2 separate regions of the Homo sapiens genome follow, and region 1 is linked to region 2. Evidence: promoter capture Hi-C in 16 types of primary human blood cells and fetal thymus (Javierre and others, 2016). All regions are on one chromosome and are shown on one strand. Each heading gives the region's core, a stretch centred on a gene start or on the middle of the fragment in contact. The rest is flanking DNA. Distances are from core to core; before and after follow the strand shown. Region 1 holds the start of C6orf132 (chromosome 6 open reading frame 132). Region 2 holds the start of PRPH2 (peripherin 2).

Region 1 (6,283 bases), core at 1,973-4,472, 580 kb after region 2:
ACCCAGGTGGCCTTTTTAAGCCTTCCACACCTTGGCCAACCTTGCCGTGACCTCCCACACACTGGATAATTCCGAGCTCCCCCATCCTCAGCCCCTGAAGAGGTCTCCTGCCTACCCTCCCCAGATCCTGCAGCCCCCAAATTGCTCTGCACTTTCCCCCCTTCATTTCCTTCCTTTCAGTTACCTCCCCACTGCCCAGCTCTCCACAGGTCACTGCCTGTCTCCACAGACTATATAACAACCTGGACTCAAGAACCATGTCTTTAATTTTTCTGGCTCTTTCACAGCCCAGCGTGTGGCACACAGTGGCTCTCAAGAATATTAGTTACAGGCCGGGTGCGGTGGCTCATGCCTGTAATCCCAGCACTTTGGGAAGCCAAGGCCGGTGGATCACCTGAGGTCCGGAGTTCAAGACCAGAATGACCAACATGGTAAAACCCCATCTCTACTAAAAATACAAAAATTAGCCGGGCATGGTGGTGGGCACCTGTAATCCCAGCTACTCGGGAGGCTTAGACAGAAGAATCACTTGAATCTGGGAAGTGGAGGTTGCAGTGAGCCGAGATTGCGCCACTGCACTCCAGCCTGGGTGACAGAGAAAGACTCCATCTAAAAAATATACATATAATAATAATAATAGTTATATAGTAGAAGTTGCAAACAAATGGAGCCACTTGGCTGGCAAGGTGGCTCACGCCTATAATTCCAGCATTTTGGGAGGCTGAGGTGGGTGGATCACTTGAGGTCAGGAGTTTGAGACCAGCCTGGCCAACATGGTGAAACCCCATCTCTACTAAAAATATGAAAATTAGCTGGGCATTGTGGCGGGTACCTGTAGTCCCAGCTACTTGGGAGGCTGAGGCAGGAGAATCGTTAGAGCCCGGGAGGCGGAGGTGGCAGTGAGCCAAGATTGCATCACAGCACTCCAGCCTCGGCGACAGAGCAAGACTCTGTCTCGAAAAAAAAAAAAAAAGGAACAAAAAAACTAAAATGACATTTGAGGGGATAATTGTGAAATTCTTTTTTTGTTTGTTTGTTTTTTTTATTATTATTTATTTTTTTTTTTTTTATTTTTTTGAGACGGAGTCTTGCTCTGTCGCCCAGGCTGGAGTGTAGTGGCACGATCTCGGCTCACTGCAAGCTCCGCCTCCCAGGTTCACACCATTCTCCTGCCTCAGCCTCCTGAGTAGCTGGGACTGCAGGTGCCCGCCACCACGCCTGGCTAATTTTTTTTTTGTATTTTTAGTAGAGACGGGGTTTCACCGTGTTAGCCAGGATGGTCTCGATCTCCTGACCTCATGATCCACCTGCCTCGGCCTCCCAAAGTGCTGGGATTACAGGCGTGAGCCACCGCACCTGGCCTGTTTTTTAATTTTTTTGAGACGGAGTTTCACTCTTGTTGCCCAGGCTGGAGTGCAATGGCATGATCTTGGTTCACTGCAACCTCTGCCTCCCGGGTTCAAGTGATTCTTCTGCCTCAGCCTCCCTAGTAGCTGGGATTACAGGCACACACTTCCACGCCCAGCTGATTTTTTAAATATTTTTGGTAGAGACGGAGTTTCACCATGTTGGCCAGGCTGGTCTCAAACTCTTGACCTCAAGTGATCCACCTGCCTTGGCCTCCCAACGTGCTAGGATTACAGGCGTGAGCCACCGTGCCTGGCAATGTTAGATCTCCTGAGTGTGACAGTTGTATTGTGGCCATGTAGGAGAATGTTCCTACTCTTAGACATCGATGCTGAAGTACTGGGGGAGGCTAAGAAATGGGCCACGGTATCTACAACTTCCAAGCTTCAGCAAAATGAAAAGGAAAAGAATCCGGGAGAGAGAGAGACAGAGAGAGAGAGGGATGAATTTAGCAATGAGTTAACAATTGGTGAATCCAGGGAGAAGGGTACACAGGTGGTCATTGTACAATTCTTGTAAGTTCTCTGAAGGTTTGAAATGTTTCAGAGTGAAAAGTTGAGGGAAAACGCCTTTGGTGTAAGATCTGGGGGAAACTGAGGGGAAATGTGGCAGTGGGCCCTGTCCCCCGGAAGCTCAGCAGAAATGGCAACTTGCACCAGCCTATGCCCCCTGCTGCCCAGAAAACATCAAACTCCACCCACTTGGCCTGCACCTCTGCTCTCAGCATCTTCACGCAGGCTCTCCCCCTCCTCATCGGAGGAAATTTCCCCCGTGGATAGCCACCCCTGGCTTGGCTAGGATGTTACCCTAAGTGCCTTAAAGTACCACTGTTTGTCTCCCTGGAGAGTGAACCCAACCCTAAGTGGGCTCTACCCACTTTAGGTTTTCAAAAATTATATTCACTTAACTTCACAGAAAAAAAAGAATGTGGGCCAGGCGCGGTGGCCGACGCCTGTAATCCCAGCACTTTGGGAGGCCGAAGCCGGCAGATCACGAGGTCAGGAGTTCCAGACCAGCCTGGCTAACATGGTGAAAACCTGTCTCTACTAAAAATACAAAAATTAGCCGGGCGTGGTGGTGCGTGCCTGTAATCCCAGCTACTCGGGAGGCTGAGGCAGGAGAATCGCTTGAATCCGAGACCGGGAGGTTTCGGTGAGCCGAGATGGCGCCACTGCACTCCAGCCTGGGCAACAGAGCGAGACTCCGTCCAAAGGAAAAAAAAAAGAAAAGAAAAGAAAAGAAAAAGAAAAACAATGTGATGTACAGACACAGAATGCCAAGATTTCGTCATCCCACATTCTCTTCGGAGCCCTGTCAATGAGGATGTTTTTCCACCCTCGTCATCAGATTGGTATACTAGTTTGTCATTTTCTTGCTTTTCCCAGCTTACTTTTCTCTTACAGGCACTTCCTGATGTTCCCCGAAGCCTCACGCCCCACATATTTGAGGGGCTATAGGATGCCGTGGCGTGCTCGCTTTGGCCATCCATGTCCCTCGTGTTGGACACTAGAGCTGTCCCCGATGTACCCATACTGACCTGGTCACGAATCGCCTTGAGAGGCTGGAAACTCACCCGCCTCCTTTCCCGGACTAGGGGGAAGTGGGGTGAAGGAGGCGTGCAGGGAGGAACCTGGGGGAGGGGGTGGCCCGTCTCCCAGGCTGGGCGTGGGCCGGGCGAGGTCCCCAGCCCACCGGGCCGTGCCAACAATGGCCTGTTGTAGAAGGAGGCGGGAAGGAATGCGGCCTGGGGAGCTGGGCGGCGGCGGGGCGGGGCCCGGCCAAGCGGCTGCCTTTTACCTGGCCAGGTAGCTCGCATTTCCCGGCAAGCGGCGGCGCCCGCAGCACCTGTTGCCCGGTGCGCGGGCGGGGAGGACGGCGGGGGACATGGCCTGGTAGAGTCCCCTGGGGAGACCGTGCTGAGTTCAGTCCGGGGCAGGGCAGGGCGAGGGAGGGAAGGTCCTTCCCTGGCGCCCGCGCGGGCTGCGGCAGCATGAAAAAGAAGCAGACGGTGCAGGGCACCTTCAGCAAACTCTTCGGGAAGAAGCACACCACGACCCCCAGCACCTCCCTCTACGCCACCAATCCGCCCTGGATCTTCACCCAGGAGGCCCCGGAGGAGGGGACCGGGGGCTTCGGTGAGTACTCCGGGGACGGAGGGCGCTGGGGCGGGGACGGAGGGCGCTGGGGCAGGGCCGGCGGTGCTGTCTCCTGGAGGCGCGGAGGGGAGGGACACGTTGGAACCTGCGGACTGGCCGAGAGCAGCCGCCGGGCAGGGGAGGAGGCACCGCACAGGGGTGTCTGGGAAGGGCTGTGCGGTGAGAGAGGTGTGGGGAACGAGGGGACCCCCCCCACCACCACGGGGAGGTGGGAGAACTTTGCCGCCCCCACCTCTGACCCCAGGCCTTATTCGGAGGTGTTTAATTCCCCCTCTTGGCGAATCCTATGCTTGTGTTACTGTTAGCGGAAAGGCTTCCGGAGGTTTGCGATATCTCCCCCGACCCCCACCGCTACACCCCCATTCTGGCTGAAGCAAAAGTGTTCCTGAAGAACTGGGGGCTAAGGGGCTAAGAACTCCTCCCTCACCCTTTGCACTCCCTGTTTCCCAAGCCCACGTGGCAGAGAGGGGCCTGCTATCTGGGTGCTCACAAACTTGGCTCTGGCTAGGTGAGGCCCAGGAAAAAACAACAGGCGCAGCTGCTACCAGGTTACCAGCCTGTTTGTGACACCAAGTCACTTATTGGGGCCACAGGCTCCTGCCAGTTCAACCTGGGACCTGGGCTGTCTCTGGGCTAAGACCGAGGAGCCAGAAATGGGACAGTGGAGGCCAAGGAACCCTCTCCCTGACTGCCAGCTGCCGCTGACCCTGGAATCAGACTGGTGTGTCTCTGCAGGCCTCTAAAAGCACCGCCTTGGCTCATCCCCAGGCTCTGGCTGTGGGTCATCTTATCATTGCATCGTTTTGCAATTTGTATTCTCTATAACTAGGGGAAGCCAGCGGCTGGAGACAGAAATCCATTTCTTGTGTATGACATGTGGCTCTGGAACGCCCAGGTTGGGGGGGCAGGGGGCTTCTGGGCCCAAGGAAGGTCACCCATCACTGCTTTAGCTTGCCTGCCTTCATTCTCACCATATTATCTTCACTGATCTTTATAGCCACTGTGCTGGGACCCACAGTGGATGTCATAGCCTTGGTGCCTGCTGTTGGACTCAGTTCAGCATGCAGGTTGCCACAGCCAGGACACAAGGCACCATGGATAGGAGCAGGACGGACAAAGTGTCGCCTCTTCCTGGCACAAAGATATCAGATCAGGGGGTGAACAGAACTAACCATATGCCATTTAGCCCTTTCTGAGCCTTTGCTGTAAATGATTATTAAGCATAAAAGCAAAGAAGAGAGATGACCTCTGAGTGGAACTAGCATTCGAGCTGACAGGAGAGGGCATTCCTGGCAAAACAAACAGTAGAAGCAAAGACCAGGAGGAGCAGGGCAAGTGGAGGCATGGTGTAGGCACTCCCAGACACAGGTGTGCAGGCAAGTGCCTGTGAGCCAGGACACTTCTTTCCCTCTCAACGGAGGCACCATGGAAAGACCATTTATTAATCCCTTCTTAGGTGCAAGATGCCATTCTAAAATCTTTGTGTTACTGATTCATTGAAATCTCATCTAGAGTCAGGCACTATTATTGTCATTCCTGTTTGACAGATGAGGAGACTGAGGCACAGGGAGGTTAAGTAATATGCCCAAGATCATACAGCTTTCAATGCTGGAGGCAGCATTTTTCTAAGTCCACAATTCAATGATTTTTAGTAGACCATTTACACAGAGTTGTGCCATTATCACCACCATCTGGTTTTAGAACATTTCGATGACCTCCAAAATCTCCCTTGTGAGGCAGAACTAGTATTTGAATCCAGGCAGTCAGGCTCCAGAGATCACACTCTTAGCGGGTTTGCTGAATTAACTCTGCAGAGGAAGGCGATCCAAGTTTACTTGAGGGGCATCTGCCTGGAAAATACCACACACATACACACACACACACCCTTCCTCCCTCAAGGGGAGACCTCAGCCATGCCTCTCAGCCACGCCTCTCAGCCACTTCTGCATTTTGCCTAGGCTGTGCAGGCTGCTAGTGGGCATCAGCACCTCTGGTGAGGGAAGAGGGCCTGGTGCCCTGTCATCTCCAGCCAGCTGCTGCCCTCATCAGCCTGGGCAGAGCTGGAGTCCAAAGGACAGCTCCTCCCGTTCCTCAAGGCAGGGCTGGGCCTCCAGCTGACTCAGCTTGGTCTTGCCTGCACAAGGAGCCATGGAAAACATCATGCACCCAGCAGAACAGCGCCTCAGTGTTTCCGGGGTGTTCCCTGGGGTGCCACTGGGCGTGGCAGAAGTCCTCCCTGCTCTGCTTGGAGTTAGGGAGAGGAGGGACCAGTGTTGGGGATTCTGTGATGGGATGCAGGTGCAGCCCTGCCTTGGCATCCTGTCTCTGTCAATACATAGGGCTAAGCACTCTCTGGGCCTCAATTTTTTCTTCTGTTAAAGGGGATAGTGTCCAGGCTGCCTGCAGGGTAACTGCCTGAAGCGGTATTTATGGTAGTGCTTTGAAGAGCATTAAAACAAAAAGCTCTAAACAGGGTGTCCAATCTTTTGGCTTCCCTGGGTCACATTGGAAGAAGAATTGTCTTGGGCCACACATAAAATACACTGACACTAACAATAGCTGATGAGCTAAAAAACAAAACAAAAAAACGCAAAAAAAAACCCCTCATAATATTTTAAGAAAGTTCACTAATTTGTGTTGGGCCATGGGTTGGACAAGCTTGCTCTAAAGCAAGGATTGGCAAACTACAGTCCTGGCTCCATTCTGGCCCATGGCCTGCT
Region 2 (6,325 bases), core at 2,224-4,723:
TTTGGAGACCTTGAAGAGGAGTGTGTGGGTAGTGAGTCTAGTGTAGGGGAATCAATGCACATAAGGGAAGAAAGGAGATTCTGGATTAGAGTTTTGACCCACTTGCCACCAAGAGCTCACAGGCTTCATATTCTAATCATGAAACCCTTTTTGGTATTAGGTGGACAGGAATTTGATGACAAGATTGGTTTGTTCTTTTTTTTTTTTTTTGAGATGGAGTCTTGCTCTGTCGCCCAGGCTGGAGTACAGTGGTGTGATCTCAGCTCACTGCAACCTCTGCTTCCTGGGTTCAAGTGGTTCTTATGCCTCAGCCAGCCTCTGGGAGTATAGCTGGGGTTACAGGTGCCTGCCACCATGCCCAGCTATTTTTTTTTTTTTTGTATTTTTAGTAGAGATGGGGCTTCACCATGTTGGCCAGGCTTGTCTTGAACTCCTGACTTCAAGTGGTCCACTTGCCTTGGCCTCCCAAAGTGCTGGAATTACAGGCATGAACCACCACACATGGCCTTGGTTTGTTCTTAAAAGCCCTTGTACTTATGCACAGGCTGTTCTGAGAAGTAAGATTATTGGATCTTTGGGAATTTTAATGCATTTTAAATTTTAGGGTGGGTGAGGTGGCTCACACCTGTAATCTCAGCAATTTGGGAGGTTGAGGCAGAAGGATTGCTTGAGCCCAAGGAGTTTGAGACTAACCTAGGCAACACAGCAAGACTCCGTCGCTAAAATTTTTTTTTGAAAATTGTAATAGGTATAGCTAAATTGCCCTTCCAAAGGGCTGTAAAACTTTACACTCTAAAGAAAACAAACAACATTATTAAAAAGTGAGCATGCTGGGCATTGTGGCAGGTACCTGTAATCCCAGCTTCTCAGGAGGCTGAGGTGGGAGGATTGCTTGAGAATAGTAGTTGGAGACCAGCCTGGACAACATAGATAGATCCTGACTCAAAAAGAAATAAAAGCAGGCAAAAGTGCTGAACAGACACTTCACCAAAGAAGATATGCAGATGGCAAATAAGCACATGACACATGAAAAGATCAAATGTCATTAGGGCACTGCAAATTCAAACAAGATGCAGCTACACACCTATTACAGTGGTTAAAATCTGAAACACTGACAATATCAAATGTTGGCAAGGACATGAAGTAAAAATTGCTGGTAGGAATGCAAAATTGTACAGTCACTTTGCAAGACAGATTGGCAGTTTCTTACAAAGTTAAACATAGTCTTACTATGTAATCTAGCCATTGTGCTCCTAGATATTTACCCAGATGAATGGAAAATTTTTCAGCAAAAACCTGCACGTGGATGTTTATAGCAGTTTTATTCATAATTGTCAAAAACTGGAATCAACCAGGATATTCTCTGATAGGTGAAGGAATAAACCGTGGTACATCCATGTGATGAAACGTTATTCAGTGATAAGAAGAAATGAGCTATTAAGCCGTGAAAAGATACAGAGAATCATTAATCACATATATTGCTAAGGGAAAGAAGCCAGTCTGAAAAGGCTACATGTTGTATGATTCCAACTGTAAGATATTCTAGATAAGGCAAAACTATAGATCTAGACGGTGGTTGCCCAGGGCTGAGGAGTGAGGGAAGGAGGAATGAATAGGCAGAACATGGCAGGTTATTAGAGTAGTGGAAGTATTCTGTATGATACAATAATGATGAATACATGACATTATGCATTTGGCAAAAGTGACAGAATTATATGCACAAAGACTGAACCTTAATGTAAACTATAGACTTTAGTTAATAATAGTGCATCAATATTGGTTCATTAATTGTAACAAATGTACCACATTAATGCAAGATATTAATTAGAGGAGAAACTGGTTGGGGAGATGGAGAATAATGGGAACTCCCTGTATTTTCTGTTCAATTTTTTTGTAAACCTAAAACTACTGTAAGAAATAATCCATTAATTAATAATAATAATAAATGTACAGATTCACCAAGAGTGTACACTTCTACTTCCACTCTCTTTGTTGATGTATGGTGACAGAATTTTGACATACATTCAATTTGATGGATCGAGTTTGGTCTTTTTCTTTTTTTGAGACGTCATTTCACTCTTGTCACCCAGGCTGGAGTGCAATGGCGCAATCTTGGCTCACTGCAACCTCCACTTCCCGGGTTCAATTGATGCTCCTTCCTCAGCCTCACAAGTAACTGGGATTACAGGTGCCTGTCACCATACCCAGACAATTTTTGTATTTTTAGTAGAGACAGGGTTTCACCATGTTGGCCAGGCTGGTCTTGAATGCCTGACCTCAAGTGATCCACCCACCTTGGCCTTCCAAACTGCTGGGATTACAGGTGTGAACCACTGTGCCCGGCCAAGTTTGGTATTTTATTGTTGTTTGGATTTGCATTTTCCTGCTTATTACCCAAGTTGAGATCTTTTCCAGATTATTGGACTTTTCAAGTTTCCTAATTATGAATTGTCTGTTCCTGGTTTTTGCCTATTTTTCCAGTTGATTATTGGTCTTTTGATTGTGAATTTTTGTTTATTGTGAATTTGTGAGACTTAAAACATTTTTGCATATTAATTCTTTTTTTTTTTTTTCCAGACAGAGTCTCACTGTCACCCAGGCTGGAGTGCAATGTGGGGATCTCAGTTCAGTGCAACCTCCACCTCCTGGGCTCAAGCGATCCACCTGCCTTGGCCTCCCAAAGTACTGGGATTACAGGCATAAGCCACCATGCCTGGCCACTGTATATTACTTTTTAATTTTACAAGTTGCAAATGTTTTCTCACGATCTGTCACTTTCTTTCTTTCCTTCCTTCTTCTCTTCTTTTCTTTGTCTTTTTAAAATTTGAGACAGGGCCTCACTCTGTCACCCAGGCTGGAGTGCAGTGGCACGATCATGGCTCAGTGCAGCCTTGAACTCCCCAGGCTCAGGTGATCTTGCCACCTCAGCCTCCAGAGTAGCTGGGAGAACTACAGGTGCATGCCACCATACCCAGCTAATTTTTTTTTTTTTTTTTTTGTGTGTGTGTGTGTGTGTGTGGAGATGGGGTCTTCCTATGTAGCCCAGGCTGGTCTTGAACTCCTGGGCTCAAGTGATCCACCCAACTTGGTCTCCCAAAGTGCTGGGATTATAGGCGTGATCCACTGTGCCTGGCCCTGTCATTTCTTTTCTCAGAGAGGATAACAATTTATTTGTCCTACAGAAAGTTTTAAATGTTGAAGGAGATTGGCCTGGAAATATGCTTTTGGGGAGCAACACGGTCTGAGCCAGACATCCAGATACAGCCCATTCTTCTGGCCAGTCTTGCCCTTTGCTCCTGATTCTCCAAGCTGTACCCAGAGCTTTCTGGTTCAGCATGTACCTGGAGGCTGCTTTTGACCATGTTTTGAGAGTGGCATGGCTTTATCTAATGGGATGAACCTGGCTAAAGAGATTAGCAAAATGTCTTGTGGATCCCACTTTTAATCTGCAGCGTTCAGGCTGCCCCTTCTTGGCTGGGAAGGGCGCTGAAGAAACAACGCCCAGGACCAGGACTATCCCCTGCTCAAGCTGTGATTCCGAGACCCCTGCCACCACTACTGCATTCACGGGGATCCCAGGCTAGTGGGACTCGACATGGGTAGCCCCCAGGGCAGCTCCCTACAGCTTGGGCCATCTGCACTTTTCCCAAGGCCCTAAGTCTCCGCCTCTGGGCTCGTTAAGGTTTGGGGTGGGAGCTGTGCTGTGGGAAGCAACCCGGACTACACTTGGCAAGCATGGCGCTACTGAAAGTCAAGTTTGACCAGAAGAAGCGGGTCAAGTTGGCCCAAGGGCTCTGGCTCATGAACTGGTTCTCCGTGTTGGCTGGCATCATCATCTTCAGCCTAGGACTGTTCCTGAAGATTGAACTCCGAAAGAGGAGCGATGTGATGAATAATTCTGAGAGCCATTTTGTGCCCAACTCATTGATAGGGATGGGGGTGCTATCCTGTGTCTTCAACTCGCTGGCTGGGAAGATCTGCTACGACGCCCTGGACCCAGCCAAGTATGCCAGATGGAAGCCCTGGCTGAAGCCGTACCTGGCTATCTGTGTTCTCTTCAACATCATCCTCTTCCTTGTGGCTCTCTGCTGCTTTCTGCTTCGGGGCTCGCTGGAGAACACCCTGGGCCAAGGGCTCAAGAACGGCATGAAGTACTACCGGGACACAGACACCCCTGGCAGGTGTTTCATGAAGAAGACCATCGACATGCTGCAGATCGAGTTCAAATGCTGCGGCAACAACGGTTTTCGGGACTGGTTTGAGATTCAGTGGATCAGCAATCGCTACCTGGACTTTTCCTCCAAAGAAGTCAAAGAGTGAGTGGCTTCCAGTCCTGGGGTCAGAGCTATGAATATATTGGGGACACTGAGGCTCAGGCCTCTGACCAGCCCCTCTCCCCGCACCCAGTGCCTTTTCCTCTCCATCGGGTGCACAACTTATTGCTGCGTATGTGAGGGTGTATCAGGTGGAACCATATGAAATTGCTAATATTCTACCTCTTTGACCCATAAAAAATGACAACTTCATAGGGTTCAACCTAACATTGGCTAAGGTGGTAGGAAGGTATCAATTTATATAAGCTGTTTGGATAGGAGCCCCTTGGGATGAAGAGCCAGGCAGCAATGTGTGTCCACTTTATACAGAGGGATGGAAGTCATTCATAGATCACAAACACTGAGGTACTATTTGGCTATTTGTCCCATTCATTCAAAGTAGATGGATTCAGTCCCAGAAGTTTAAATTTCCTAGTTAGTTCCCTTGTTTTCCAACCTTTCAACCCTGAGCATCCATTCCCAAGATGTTTGTCTGGATATGTTGGAAAGAGCATAGGAAGGGGAAGTCATGAGATCTAGGGTGAAGTTTTGGTTCTGTTGTTCAAGGTCTTGTGACCTTGGGCAGGTCACTAGTCACTCTGCGCTTTGGCTTGCCCATCTTTTAAATGAGCACTGGAATAGAATAGGTAATTTTGGAAGTCACCTCCTAGCCCTGCCTGGTAGCTGGCATGCAGCAGGTACTCATTAAATGCTTGCTGGTGTTTACTTAGCGAGTCATGATAGTGCAATGTGATAAAGCATTTCTAAAGTATTCTTGGCATATGTAAAAGTAAAATGCTGCGATGGGCTGTGGGAGGTGCTGGTGAGAGAGAGACTCTCGACCACTGTGTCGGAGGGAACAGCCTGTGCACTGGCTCCAGCGGGCTGCTCTTCCCAACACACCCACCAACCTGGGGCTCGAGTGACTTTTCAGGGAAAGGGCAGCCTGCCTTGAGGCAGCCGCTTTCCCTCACCTCTTCTTTCTGTCTGACTCGACCCTACCTGGCTGAGGTTAGGGGTTCAGTTATTCCTAAGGGTGGTTTTTTTTTCTTCCCAGTGAGGCTGGCAAGTCCAAAGGGAACTTGAACTCAGGGCATTGGCACCAGCAGCAGGACATGTTTGAAGCCCAAAACAACATTAATGACGCCCAAATAGCTAGCTTATATCTGCCCTGCAGATGGAAGGGACGTCCAAGTGAAGGTCACTTCTTGGGATTTTATTTTCTTGTGGATGGAGATTACTGCTGCAAATCCCCAGTCAGGAGAGGATTGTAAAGGGCTGTGCCCTTCCCAGGTGACAGGTCTGCAGGGGCAGCACAAGATGCCACGATTTACATAAATCTCCCGAGGAGGGCATGAAGCCAGGGGGACAAGCAGAATTCTGGGGAGTGGGAGAGGCCGATGGTAGAACCAGCCTCTGTGAGCAGAGGCTCACAGAGAAGGGGCTTTTCATCTTTTCCTCTATCATTTCCCTTGATTGTCTCCTGCATAGAGTCAGTTCTTGGACAGATGTATTCAAATCTCTCGGTAACTCCAAATCCCCTTTTGTATCAGAGTGAAGGAATTATCTAGGTCACTCCACTCTCAATGGTCAATGGATCCAAAATTTCAGGCAAATATTTAGCTGAATCAAAACTCCTTCAATGTCCCATACCAACTTGTTGGTGGGAAATTTTCCTAACTCCACTGACTTGGAAAAATTCTTCTATTACACGCACAAAAAATACAGCAGTAATATTAAAAGAAGCCAAAATAGGAAAACAAATTCAAGCTAGCTTCTCACCCATAACTTGATTAATGCCTTTAGTTTTTCTACATTTCAGTTTCAGTCTAGTCTTGTTAACATTTACATAATCATACAGTGTAATGATAGTATAAAGACAATTTAGGGCCGGGTGCGGTAGCTCACACCTGTAATCCCAGCACTTTGGGAGGCCGAGGCGGGCGGATCACCTGAGTTCAGGAGTTCGAGACCAGCCTGACCAACACGGAGAAACCCCGTCTCTACTAAAA

What was found. The method cuts DNA at HindIII sites, captures the fragments that hold promoters and counts their contacts. A CHiCAGO score of 5 or more calls a contact.
Region 1: a contact is called between the fragment with the promoter of C6orf132 here and the fragment with the promoter of PRPH2 in region 2, in 1 of 17 cell types (neutrophils). The highest score is 6.7, in neutrophils.

The regions. Positions count from the first base shown.
Region 1 is chr6:42,139,559-42,145,841 of GRCh38, reverse strand. C6orf132 (chromosome 6 open reading frame 132) reads left to right here and starts at 3,222. Exons shown (of 5, transcript NM_001164446.3): 1 at 3,222-3,542. The coding sequence starts at 3,398. RefSeq lists an enhancer at 3,968-4,647. The HindIII fragment of the contact is 4,430 bases long and covers 1,794-6,223 here.
Region 2 is chr6:42,719,745-42,726,069 of GRCh38, reverse strand. It overlaps PRPH2 (peripherin 2), which reads left to right and starts at 3,473. Exons shown (of 3, transcript NM_000322.5): 1 at 3,473-4,316. The coding sequence starts at 3,736. The HindIII fragment of the contact is 19,648 bases long and covers 1-6,325 here.